4 separate regions of the Homo sapiens genome follow, and all the other regions are linked to region 4. Evidence: promoter capture Hi-C in human tissues and cell types (Jung and others, 2019). All regions are on one chromosome and are shown on one strand. The core of a region is centred on a gene start or on the middle of the fragment in contact, and the rest is flanking DNA. Distances in the headings are between cores, read along the strand shown. Region 1 overlaps UBASH3A (ubiquitin associated and SH3 domain containing A). Region 2 overlaps NDUFV3 (NADH:ubiquinone oxidoreductase subunit V3). Region 3 overlaps WDR4 (WDR4 tRNA N7-guanosine methyltransferase non-catalytic subunit). Region 4 holds the start of PDE9A (phosphodiesterase 9A).

Region 1 (3,101 bases), core at 426-2,925, 220 kb after region 4:
CTGCTTCTGAGCACCAAGGGGAGAAGCCCTCATCCATCCCCTTGCTGTTTTCCCATAGCTGGTCATTCTCTGTTTGGCTGAATGCTAAAGGAAAACAGTACTTTATAGTTTATTTACTTCTTCTCGGCATGAGACTGGCCTTGGCGGTGGCCAGCAGCTTCGAGCCAGGGACAGCAGCTCTCTGGCACCTTCCTCCCCAGCCTCAGGCAGCCGCAGGATGGCCTTGGAGCCTTGCAGTTACAGGGCTCACGCCCGCCCTCTTTCTGGGGAGCCTGTGCTTTGGGGAAGTAGCCCAAAGGTCATGCTTGGGGCAGCGAGGCTGGCTACCCTTTGGGAGGGGCCTCCACTGTGTGGGATGGTGTTGTGGGGGGCTCTGTCCTCAGGGGCTAGGCCACCCTTCTCCCCATGCTGTGCAGGGCTGATCAAGTTGAGGGACTGGCCTTGAGAGGAACCCACAGCAAATGAGATGAAGAGAGTGAATGAGAGCTGAGGATGCCCCCCCTGGGACCAGAGAGCAGAGTGCTAGGGGCCGAGCCAGCTAGAGGCCACCAGGACAGCTGCGTGGAGCATAAGCCCTGCACCAGGACCCTGGAGGGAGACACCAGGCTCGGCTGCTTCCCTGGAGGGCACTAATGTGCCAGCTGACATCGGCCCTTCACCTACATTCCCAGCCCCAGAGCCAGGCCCAGGCTATCCAGGGGGGTCCATTTCAGAGCAAGAGGTGGGGAACCCTGCAGCAACACAGGCCCAGTGGTGCTGCCCTCTGGCACCCAGGACTCATGCCTCAACCTCCCTGTGACATGGCACCGCAGGGGGGAGCATGTCACATGCTGGTCCATGAAGCTGCAGTCCACAGCATCCCTGCTTTAGGGAGCTGCAGGTCTCCCTGGGCCAAGGGATGAACATGGAAAGATGAGTCATTAACAGAGATGGTGGGGGCAGAGCGAACACGGCCTGCCACGGGAGGTGGGCTGTGGGGCCTTCTGGGGACCAAATCCTGCCTGGAGCCCAGGCGACCAGGGATGGACGGGGTAGGGAGGACCCCTGGGCAGGAGGCAGCTCAGACAGGCACTATCCCTGCCCTGCTCCCTCTTGGCCACACAGCTCTCTCTGGGCTAAAATGAGAGGGCAGCTCTTGTGTGTGTTTTCCTACTGAGCAGGGTAAGGAAGAGAGGTGAGGAGAGGTAAGCCTTGTCTGCATAAACCCTCATACACCAGCCCCAGCATCGCCCTGATTCCCTCCAAATCCTAGAGAGGAAAATGCAAATGGCTTTAACATCCAAACACCCTCAGGGAGGAAGGGACTCATTTTCCACCTGGCCAGTGCAGCTGATCATTCCTGTCTGGACTTTCTTCTGTGAACAGTGATCCAGTCTCAAGGGTCTGCACTAACTGGCCACTCGCTCTGGCAAGAGTGGTCCCCCGTGGTGTCCCTGTACCTAGGGAAGTGATTGGAAACTACTGGGAAGGAAGGGACACCAGAAAGTAGGGTGGGGGCCAATTTCACCTGCCTTGAAAGCATTCTCGGGGTCAGCACCACGGGCAGCTCCTGCCAGATCCTGTGGATCCCTTGTGAAGTCCACGCTGGCCCGGACGATGCAGAATTTCCAGCTGCTGAAATTTATCAGGACCAGACAGTTCTCGGTGGCCCTGGCTACATTTGGTAGGTGCATAAACTATGGGATTGGTGAGCCAGTGAGAACGTTTGCAGTCACCATGCAAACACTTTCTTAGGGTCACTGGGCTGAGTCTTCAAAACGGATATACGGTAAGGCCAAGTGAATAGTATTGCTTTCCCTTATTGGAAAACTTCAGTTGTTTGTTTCAGGATAGAAACATGCATCTCCTGGGGAACAGCTTCAGGGGAAGGTTTGTCTTGCTGTCTTGCTCTCTTGCATGTGAAGTGTGGTTATGCAGAGGTTGCCTACACTGACACCAAGAGGCAGCACCCACCGCCCCTATCCCAGAATGAATATTAAAACATCCTAGAGAGCTGTAGAGAGCTGATCTGCAAGTAGATTGCAAAGCATGCATGCTCTTGGAAACTCATTCTGCCTAGTAACAAAGTCCCTGAAGTTTTCAACTTGCGGGCTGAAGTTTTGGATTTGGGGTATTTTCTTCCTGGAAGAGCTCAGAGCATTTTAAATGTTCTTCTGTGGAGCTTTGCCACAGGAATATGATGATAAAGCAAAAGAAAGCCCTGTGGGGAGTGGAATGGACTGACCCCTGGGATCTATGGAATGAGGCAGGGCTGCACCAATTCTCTAGACAGAAGGTGCTGCATTGGTGTCCTGGGGCTGCCATAACAGGCTGGGCGGTGCCAAGCAAGAGACATTTATTCTCTCACAGCTCTGGAGGCTGGAAGTCCAAAGTCAAGGTGTTGGCAGGGCCATGCTCCCTCTGACATTCTAGGGGAGAATTTATTCTTTGCTTCTTCCAGCTCCTGGTGGCCCCAGGTGTTCCTTGGCTTGTGGCCACATTGCTCCAGTCTCTGCCTCTCTGGCTGCATGGCCTCCTCTGCTGCTGTATCAGATCCCCTCTGCTTTTCTCTCATCAGCACACTTGTGATGGGGTTTAGGGCCCTCCTGGATGACCCAGGATCATTTCCTCATTTCAAGACCCTCCACTCAATCCCATCTGCAGAAACTCTCTTTCCTAATAAGGTCACATGCACAAGTTCCCGGGATTAGGGCATCATCTCTGGGGCCATGATTCTACCAGACCTGTGGCCAGTTGTCTTTTCTTACTGTAGGGAAGGGGTGAAATCCCTATAGAGAAGACCGTGTGAGGGGGGCCAGTTCACAGGCAGATGCATGTTCTGTTTTCAGCCATTGAAAGCACGGTTTAGACACAGGCTGAGCTACGAGCAGAGACTTCCATTCCAGGCTCTCCCCCTACCCAATACCTGGGTACTTCTCCACAGTACCCAGGTATTGGGTCAAATGTTATTTTAGATGTCACTGTGAAGGTATTTTTTAAAAATGAGATTAACATTTAAGTCACTAGGCTGAGTAAAACAGAATGGTCTCTGTTTTACTCCAGATGATAGGGTTGTTGGAATCCATGGTACTAGCTCAATCTTTTTAAATAGCTGAAAGTCC
Region 2 (2,956 bases), core at 102-2,601, 240 kb before region 4:
AGCCCAGGAATTCAAGACCAGTCTAGGCAATACAGTGAGACTTCATCTGTATGGAAAATTAAAATATTAGCCAGGGTGTGATGGTGTGCACCTGTAGTCCTGGCTACTCCAGGGGCTGAGGTGGGAGGATCACTTGAGCTTGGAAGGTCGAGGCTGCAGTGACCTATGATTGTGCCTCTGTACTACAGCCTGGGTGACAGAGCAAGACTCTATTTCAAAAAATAAACAACAACATCAACAAAACATGCCAGGGATATGCCAGGAGTGGTGGTATGTGCCTGTAGTCTCAGCTACTCAGGAGGCTGAGGTGGGAGGATTGCTTGAGCTCAGGAGTTTGAGGCTGTAGTGAGCTATGACTGTGCCACTGCACTCCAGCCTGGGAGAGAGAGCCAGAGCCCCTCTCTTAAAACAAATAACATAAAAGGAAGAAGAGAAAAAAACAATGATTGAAAAACGAGGCAGGAGTCATAGCACAAAACTAAATAACATTCCCGTGGAATCCAAGCCTCAAGTCCACACACTGTGAGAGGCAGTCAGGGGCTGGCACTCTCTTTGTATAAATACAAATATTTAAAAACTTACCAGTGTTCTGTGCACAGACCAAGGAGGAAGAAAACAAAAGAATCTAAATACTTTCAAACATTCAAACTGAGGAAATAGTATATTGATGAAAATAAGACCAAACTCAATTACTATTCTACAACCCCATATAATGATTAAAGATTTAGGACTGGGCACGGTGGCTCACGCCTGTAATTCCAGCACTCTGGGAGGCCAAGGCGGGCGGATCACAAGGTCAGGAGATCAAGACCATCCCGGCTAACATGGTGAAACCCCACCTCTACTAAAAATGTAAAAAATTAGCTGGGCATGGTGGTGGGCGCCTGTAGTCCCAGCTACTCAGGAGGCCGAGGCAGGAGAATGGTGTGAACCCAGGAGGCGGAGGTTGTAGTGAGCCGAGATTGCGCCACTGCACTCCAGCAGGGGCAACAGAGCAGGACTCCATCTCAAAAAAAAGAATTAAAGATTTAGGCCGGGCGCAGTGGCTCACGCCTGTAATCCCAACACTTTGGGAGGCCGAGGCGGGTGGATAACAAGGTCAGGAGATTGAGACCATCCTGGCTAACATTGTGAAACCCTGTCTCTACTAAAAATACAAAAAATTAGCCAGACGTGGTGGCACATGCCTGTAGTCCCAGCTAGTCCTGGACTGGGATTAAGCAAAGCCTGGAAAACCACAGATGGGTCTCAAAGAGACTGAAACAAAACAAAACAAAACAAAACAAAACAAAACAAACAACTCAGCATCAGAGGATGGAAAGTAAGGTGGCTTTCTGGCAAGCTCACTGTGCCGGGGCCATCTAAATGCCACAGAGCCTTTACCAAGGCATCACTCACTTCAGGTTGGGGTTTGGCATTTAGAAAATACAGGAAAAACCATTTCAGGGCTAAATATTCAGTCAAAGACTACGACATGACTGAAATGTTTGGTCTAAAATCTGTTATAGATCTTGTGTCTTGTATAATCTGGACACTGCTGAAAAGGAAGAAGCATAAATTACGTAGCTAGTAAAACTCACTGTCGTGCTTCGAAGGCTGACTAATCTATTTTCTTTTTGCATTCTCTTTCCCTTATGACTACCATCAAAATCTTACTTTTTGGTGGACTTTGCTTCTTGGAATTCTGTGGCTGACCCTTTTCACTCTTCCCTGATTCCGCAGACAAAGAAACCGTAGAAGCAAGTCCTCGAAACACCTGGGCTTCCTGGAGCATAGTCTGACAAAAGAATTAATGAATATGGATGTTTAGAGTAATGCCATTATAATAGCTGGTACTATATATGAATATATATATATATTTTTTGAGTCAGGGGTCTCTCTCAGTCGTCCAGGCTGGAGTGCAGTGGCACAATCATGGCTCACTGCAGCCTTCAACTCCTGGGTCCAAGCGATACTCTGACATAGCCAGGACTACAGGCACATACTACCATGCCTGGCTAATATTTTTTATTTTTTATAGAGACGAGATCTGGCTACGTGGCCCAGGTTGGTCTCAAACTCCTGGCTTCCTCAAACTCCTGGCCTCAAGCGATCCTGAAGCCCCGGCCTCCTGAAGTGCTGGGATTGGCCAGGTGCGGTGGCTTACACCTATAATCCCAGCACTTTGGGAGGCTGAGGTGGGCGGATCACTTGAGGTCAGGAGTTCTGAGACCAGCCTGGACAACCCCGTCTCTACTAAAAATACAAAAAAAAGGCCGGGCGCGGTGCGACTGTAATCCTAGCACTTTGGGAGGCCGAGGCGTGTGGATCATGAGGTCAGGAGATCGAGACTATCCTGGCTAACACGGTGAAACCCCGTCTCTACTAAAAATACAAAAAATTAGCCGGGCATGGTGGCGGGTGCCTGTAGTCCCAGCTACTTGGGAGGCTGAGGCAGGAGAATGGCGTGGACCCAGGAGGTGAAGCTTGCAGTGAGCCAAGATCGTGCCACTGCACTCTAGCCTGGGCGACAGAGCAAGACTCTGTCGCAAAAAAAAAAAAAAAAAAAAAAATTTAGCCAGGCACGGTGGTGCATGCCTGTAGTTCCAGGTACTGCAGAGGCTGAGGCAGGAGAATTGCTTAGACTCAGGAGGTGGAGGTTGCAGTGAGCTGAGATCACGCCACTGCACTCCAGCCTGGACAACAGAGTGAGACTGTCTCAGGAAAAAAAAAAAAAAAAGAAAAACAACCAAAGTGCTGGGATTGTGTGCATGTAGGTACCGTGCATATGAATATTACATATTACCACTACATGTAAGTGCAAAACATTCACATGGTATACTTCTAATGGTTATTACAGTTTTCATAATGTATGTATATTATGGACATTTTGTAAAATACAAAAAGGCTGCAAGAAGAAAACACCCGAGTTCAAGGACAATCACTATTAATATTTGGTTTAATAAAACTTCAACCA
Region 3 (2,907 bases), core at 408-2,907, 210 kb before region 4:
ATTGCAGTGCACCCTGAGAATTCTGATTAATCTTGCCCCAGAGCGTAATTATCTTTCTTTGTCCTTGTTTTCTCTGTGTTTACCCCGTTATACTTCCCTTCTGCCTCCCTTCTGCAGCTCTGCTGCACAGCTGTGAGGGAGGAGGAGGGATGCTGCTTCCAGCCTGGGGTGTGGCCCAAAGGTCCTGCCTGCCCTTTTCTGTCTTTTAGTCCCTCTGCCCCTGAGAGAAACATAGGGGCCTCATTGAGGACAGCGTTCCTGAAGCTTCCATCTCAATTTCCAGCCGCAGTGGGCCGGGCGCCCTGTACTTGTCTGCCTGGTGTTGGCTGCGTATTGGGCAGTGTGTGCTGCCACAGCCCTGGGGGTGGGGAAGCAGGGCTGGCTGCTGTTCTGTAGTGAGGCCCTGTGGCTAACTGCGTGTGTGGGAAGCTGTGCTACAACTCATATCTATGTAAAATAGAACATATGGGTCCCTGCCTTGTGGAGAGGACATAAATACGGGACGATTCCAGTAGAAATGATGTGGAAATGAGAGCCCCAGGAAGTAGTGTAGCCCTGAGCCCTGGCGAAGGAGAGGGAGCGAACTGTGACTTTGGTTCTTGCTGAAGCAGTGTGCAAACGTGCTGCATCCGGAACTCTGGTGCATCCATGACTCTGGGTCGGGGTTGGATTCATGGATGTGCTGATGTGGATGTGGACTGGGGGGAGCGCAGGCCTCTCACACGCTGGATAACCGAGCTTCCTCCCGAGGAGGGTAGGGTGCTGCCTCACTGCTGCCCTGGGCTGGGTCCTGCCCTGAGGGTGGCCAGGCCCCTCCATCCCTCTGCAGGGCATGGGGCACGGCTCTCTGTCTGAGGCTCCTGGTTCGACGCAGCAGAACGAGCAGCAGGGGTCAGTGTGGGTCAGGGGAGCGGCAAGGCTGGGGGGCCCTGGAGACTGGTGCCTGCCTTTGTCCTTGACAGTGGCCCCCAGCACACTCAGCGTTTATGGAGAGGGCCGTTGTCTCCCTCAATGCATGATGAAGACTCTGGGGTTAAGGAACCATTCCCCCATTTCTTGATGACAGTTTTCAAACACACAGGAAAGTTGAGGATTTTGTCACGCATTTATCCACCACCTAGATCCCACCATCAGGAGCAATTTTCTATTCTTTTCTTTTTTTTTTTTTTTTTTTTTTTGAGACGGAGTCTCGCTCTGTCGCCCCAGGCTGGAGTGCGGTGGCGGGATCTCGGCTCACTGCAAGCTCCGCCTCCCGGGTTCACGCCATTCTCCCGCCTCAGCCTCCCGAGTAGCTGGGACTACAGGCGCCCGCCACCACGCCTGGCTAATTTTTTGTATTTTTAGTAGAGACGGGGTTTTCACCGTGTTAGCCAGAATGGTCTCAATCTCCTGACCTTGTGATCCACCCACCTCGGCCTCCCAAAGTGCTGGGATTACAGGTGTGAGCCACTGCGCCCGGCTAGGAGCAATTTTCTTAAAGAAAAACGTTGTGAAAGTAAATTTGTCGAAGGCATTGGCTTTGTTCCAGTTGTTAGCATTGCTTAATTTTTTTGGCACCACCTTCAGCAGCTGGAAAACAGAGCATATGGCCAGGTACCGGTGCCTGCCACCGCCCACGTGGCCTGCCAGGCTGTCGAGGACCCTGCGCTGCTCCTGGAAGCTAATGGGGGTGTCTTTCTGGCCTTCTAGGACCGTGGCAAGGAGGTGTACAGCCCTGACTTTCATAGCCTCGGAGGAGAAGGTCTTGGTGGCCGACAAGTCTGGAGACGTCTACTCCTTTTCGGTGCTGGAGCCACACGGGTGTGGCCGTCTAGAGCTGGGGCACCTGTCTATGCTGTTAGATGTGGTAGGTGGGGGACGTGGTAGGTGGGGGACATGGCAGGTGTGGGACACGGTACATGGGGGACGTGGCACGTGGGGCATACGCTGAGTCAATGTCTACCCTGTCAAGGCTCAGGCACCTGTCCATGCTGTTAGACGCAGTACGTGGGGGACATGGTATGTGGGGTACAGGCTGAATCAACGTCTGCCCGGTCTGTGCCCCAGCGTTTGGTGGGGAGAATGGGGCTCCCCCGTAGCAGGGACAGCCCTCTGCAGATTTGGGAGCAGGGGAGTGGTGGGAACAGGATTTAGGAAGGTGGAGCAGACAGCAGGGAGAATGAAGAAGGCAAGTGAGACAGGAGGTGGTCAGTAGGTGGCCCCAGGTTGGAAGTGAAGGTGTGGGAGGAGCAGGTGCAGCCACGAGCCTCTGGCTCCGCCTCCTTGGCCGGGAGCTGTGCCAGGTGCTGTAGGAGCATCACCTCAGCACTGCTCCCAGCAGCCCCTGTCACCCCACTCTGTGTGCCCCGTGTGTCACAGACACACACCTGGAGCCCCAGAGGGCGCAGGCCCACAGCCCGGGTGGTGGAGCTGGGATTGGACGCACACAGGGACAGTCAGGAACAATGGCGAGTGTGGGGTATCAAAGGGAACCTCACTGGGACTTGGTGACAGATGGGTGTGGGGACATGTGTGACAGGAAGGCAAGGAAGGCAACCCAGTGTTGGGCAGGAGGGTGCAGCAGGCCTGTGGCGGGTGGAAATGGGCGTGGGGCCTGGATTTGCCAAGGTGCGGGAGACAGGCAGGCAGGGGTGGCACTGCCCCACCCCAGAAGCCTGCTCTAGCACTGAGGAGTGAGGGCTAGAGGTGGCCAGGGACCCTCTGGGGAGGGAGAATGAGGGCCACCAATTAGACGTAGGGACGGGAGGAGGGGAGGAGCCACGCTGGTCTGTCCTCGAAGGCCTCATCCTCTTGGCGGCCAGGCTGCAGCTTCCCTGCCTTCTTCCATGAGGGACTTGATTCGGGAAGACTCAGGTGAGCGGCTTTTTCTTTTCTGGCCCCTGGTGATGCAGGCTGTGAGTCCTGATG
Region 4 (2,913 bases), core at 1-2,500:
AAGCGGGCTACGGTGGGAGAGGGCTGTACTTTCCATTTCACGGGGATCAAGCCGGGCACAGGGTGAGGGAGGCTTGTTGGCTTAAATCTACTGATTAAACTGGCCAAATGCACCTCTGGGAACAGGAAAGACTCAAGCCTGGCCGGCACCTGCTCTGTGCCTGGCTGGGGCATCTCTCCCTGGCCTCCTTCAGTGGAGTACTCCGTGGGCAGAAAGGTGAGAAGCAGCTGCAAGGGCTTCCTGAAACGCCCAGCTGAGGTTTGAGGGATTTCCTCACAATGGCTTTTCCCTGGGGACTTTAGGGGGAGCTCATGAGAGCCCCTTCCAAGCCGGCGCGCTCATTGTCCCTCCCTGCCCGTCAGAGGGGGCCACGAACAAAGGGGGTCTATTCTGAACCCCTCTCCCGTGTAACTCAAGTCCGCTAGGAACGCTGGACATTCGAGGGACTTCCTATCTCCGCACAGCAGGGGAGAGCCGGACCCGCTGCCCCCCAGGCTCTCCGCGGGGCCCCGGAGGTGCAGCGGCCCGAGTCCCCCTCTGCAGTCGGAGCTACTCACCTGCGGGGGAGCAGTGTCCCCGCCGGCGCCCCCCGCACCTGCCCCCGCGCGACAGGAAGCGGCGGCTGCTCGCCCCCTCCGCGGACCACGACCCCGGGGCTGCCCGGCGGGCCGATCCACCGGAAATTAAAGGCTTCATGTGCCAGCCCTTGAATGTAAAAACTCAGCCTAATCAGATTTTCAAAAAGAAAAGCTCTGCCTGTGAAACGGAAACACTAGCCCGCCCCCCCACCCCCCACCCCCCAGGGCGAGTCGCCCCTTTCCCCGGGGAGCCGGCGCGTGGGGACCCCCGCCCCCGACCAGAGCTGGCGGAGCGCACGGAGGCCGCAGCCTGGACCGGCAGACGCACGGACAGTCCCGCCCCGCCGCGCCCGGCCCCGGCGCTGTCACCCGGGGGGAGGAGGGGGTGTCTGGGTGGGGGAGGGGCTACCTTCTGAATGCGTCCATCGATGTCCAGGTAGATGGCCTTGGGCCGGTAGCTGGAGGAGCCGGATCCCATCCTGCGCCCGGCGGCTGCACTCGGACTTTTTACTGTACTTTCCCGACGCCAGCCGCCGCGGGAGGCGGGGGAGGGGAGCAGGGGAGGGGGCGGGCGGGGGGCGGCCCGCGGCGCTCAGCCAACCACAGCCGCGCCGCCACCGGGCCCGGGACGCCCGGGAGCCGCCGCCGCGCGCCGCAGGGTCTCCTCCGCTCGGCTCGCGCTCGGGCTCGGGCTCCGACTCCGGCTCGCGCGCTCCTCCTCCCGGCCGCCCGCCCGCCCCTCCCCCTCCCCCCTCCCCCCTCCCTCCCCCGTCTCTCCTCTCTCCCCTCCTCTTCACTCCCTGCACCTCCCTTCCCCCTCTTTCTTCTTCCCTTGACTCCAGCCCCCGGTCGGCTGCCTATCTCCCGATGCCCCCTGGACAGCTGTGCAGAGCCCTGAGCGACCCCTTCGGCCCGGAGCCGTCGCCTCCCCACGCAGCCCGTCCCTCCTAAGCCAGCGCTGGGCTGAGCGTGGCCGCGCCGCTGTGGACCCCCCAGCCCCGCCGGGAAAACTCCCCTCGCTCCTCTCTCCCTGCTGCGACCGCCACCCTCATTTCATTTGAATAGAAAACGGGAAAAGTTCCTTCTCGGTCACCCACAGCCTTCCCCTAACTAGGGGGCGTCAGCCTCCTCCAGCTGCGCCCGGAGCTGAAATGGCGATTTTATTTCTGTCCTGTATGGGGCCGGACCGAGGATTACCCCGCCACAAGCTATCTGCTGGATTCAGCAGTTTCGTCCCCTCCCCGCTTGTGTGAATTGCTACAGGGAGTGTGGGAAAGGCGGGAGGGGAAGGGGGCTGTGGGCATCCTCTGGATCTGCGGAGCAGGGAAGGGCTGCCTTGGCCGCCCCCAGTTCTCCTGGGCTCCTCCATTGGGAATGGGGTTGGCGGCTGGGGGAGGAGGCTCAGATGCCGTGGTCCTGGCCCTGGGTGCAGGTCGCCTTTGGAAGCAAGTGTCAAAGCCAGCCGGAGCATGTGCTATTGTTTCGTTGGAAGTGAGTTCCAAGCCACCGCTTTCCATCTGTTAAGTGTCTGGGTGCTGCTTATTGAGAGAGTCTGGTGCACCCAGGCTCCTCCCTCCCCTTCGGGCCTGCTGGAGCCGGCCAGCCAGTGCCAGGGCCAGTGGTCACTTCCTCTCCCTCCCCTGGCCAGCCTGGTCTCCACCTGGTGGACGGTCACAGGCTTTACAGACACCCCCAGGGCCATCTGGAGCTCTGGTGGCAGCTGGGGTCCTGGGGAAGGTGAGAGCTCCTTGCCTGTCCGTGGGGGTGGCATCATCCTGTGAGGTAAGTGATCGTCCTCAGCCTTTGGCCAGTCCATCCTGTGTCACTTTATGTCCCCCCACCTGCTCTCATGGCGGGGGGCACGCTCTCAAATAACAACGGCTTGGAACTCGGTACCTTGGCACCCCCTGCCCACAGCTCCAGTGGAGTCCGTGTCAGAGCTTTGGCACCATGAGTTGTGCTTTTCAAGTGACAGGATGAGAAGGGGACAGCCTGGAGGCCTTTGGGGTGGGGAGACCCAGCTGGGTGGTTACAGCGGGCCAGCTGACTCGCCATGGGGATACTGTGTCCCCGGCTCATTGAAGTGAGCACTATTACTAGTAGTTCAATTTGTTGTCAAATGTTCCGATGCTATTTGGGCTAATCCAGAGATCGTGCTGTTGGGACCGCCTGTGCTGCCTGGCATGGAGTTCTTACCAGCAGATGGCTCATTGGCTTGGCACTTAGTTATTCTCCATCCCTTATTGTCATCTGGCCTAGTCTTCTGTAACCATTTCCTCCAAGAGCCCCAGAAGGACGAGTGCCCGCCCATGGGGGGTGGTTCTGCAGGGCAGTT

The links. Contacts are between HindIII fragments. The study calls those that stand out against the background at their distance.
Region 1: a fragment that was not itself captured here is called in contact with the fragment with the promoter of PDE9A in region 4 in 1 of the 25 tissues and cell types used here (stomach).
Region 2: a contact is called between a fragment that was not itself captured here and the fragment with the promoter of PDE9A in region 4, in 1 of the 25 tissues and cell types used here (dorsolateral prefrontal cortex).
Region 3: a fragment that was not itself captured here is called in contact with the fragment with the promoter of PDE9A in region 4 in 1 of the 25 tissues and cell types used here (spleen).

Annotation. Positions count from the first base shown.
Region 1 is chr21:42,428,508-42,431,608 of GRCh38, reverse strand. The region is part of intron 8 of UBASH3A (ubiquitin associated and SH3 domain containing A); the gene reads right to left. Among named protein-coding and RNA genes, the nearest start is that of UBASH3A, 26 kb to the right of the region's middle. The HindIII fragment of the contact is 9,602 bases long and covers 1-3,101 here.
Region 2 is chr21:42,895,748-42,898,703 of GRCh38, reverse strand. NDUFV3 (NADH:ubiquinone oxidoreductase subunit V3) reads right to left here. Exons shown (of 4, transcript NM_021075.4): 2 at 1,657-1,777. Among named protein-coding and RNA genes, the nearest start is that of NDUFV3, 3.9 kb to the right of the region's middle. The HindIII fragment of the contact is 5,741 bases long and covers 1-2,956 here.
Region 3 is chr21:42,862,379-42,865,285 of GRCh38, reverse strand. WDR4 (WDR4 tRNA N7-guanosine methyltransferase non-catalytic subunit) reads left to right here. Exons shown (of 11, transcript NM_018669.6): 4 at 1,690-1,846; 5 at 2,892-2,907. Among named protein-coding and RNA genes, the nearest start is that of WDR4, 16 kb to the left of the region's middle. The HindIII fragment of the contact is 4,099 bases long and covers 1-2,907 here.
Region 4 is chr21:42,651,958-42,654,870 of GRCh38, reverse strand. It overlaps PDE9A (phosphodiesterase 9A), which reads right to left and starts at 1,250. Exons shown (of 20, transcript NM_002606.3): 1 at 988-1,250. The coding sequence starts at 1,056. It overlaps LOC101928255 (a long non-coding RNA gene), which reads left to right and starts at 1,213. Exons shown (of 3, transcript XR_244322.4): 1 at 1,213-2,913. RefSeq lists an enhancer at 1,565-2,286. The HindIII fragment of the contact is 36,096 bases long and covers 1-2,913 here.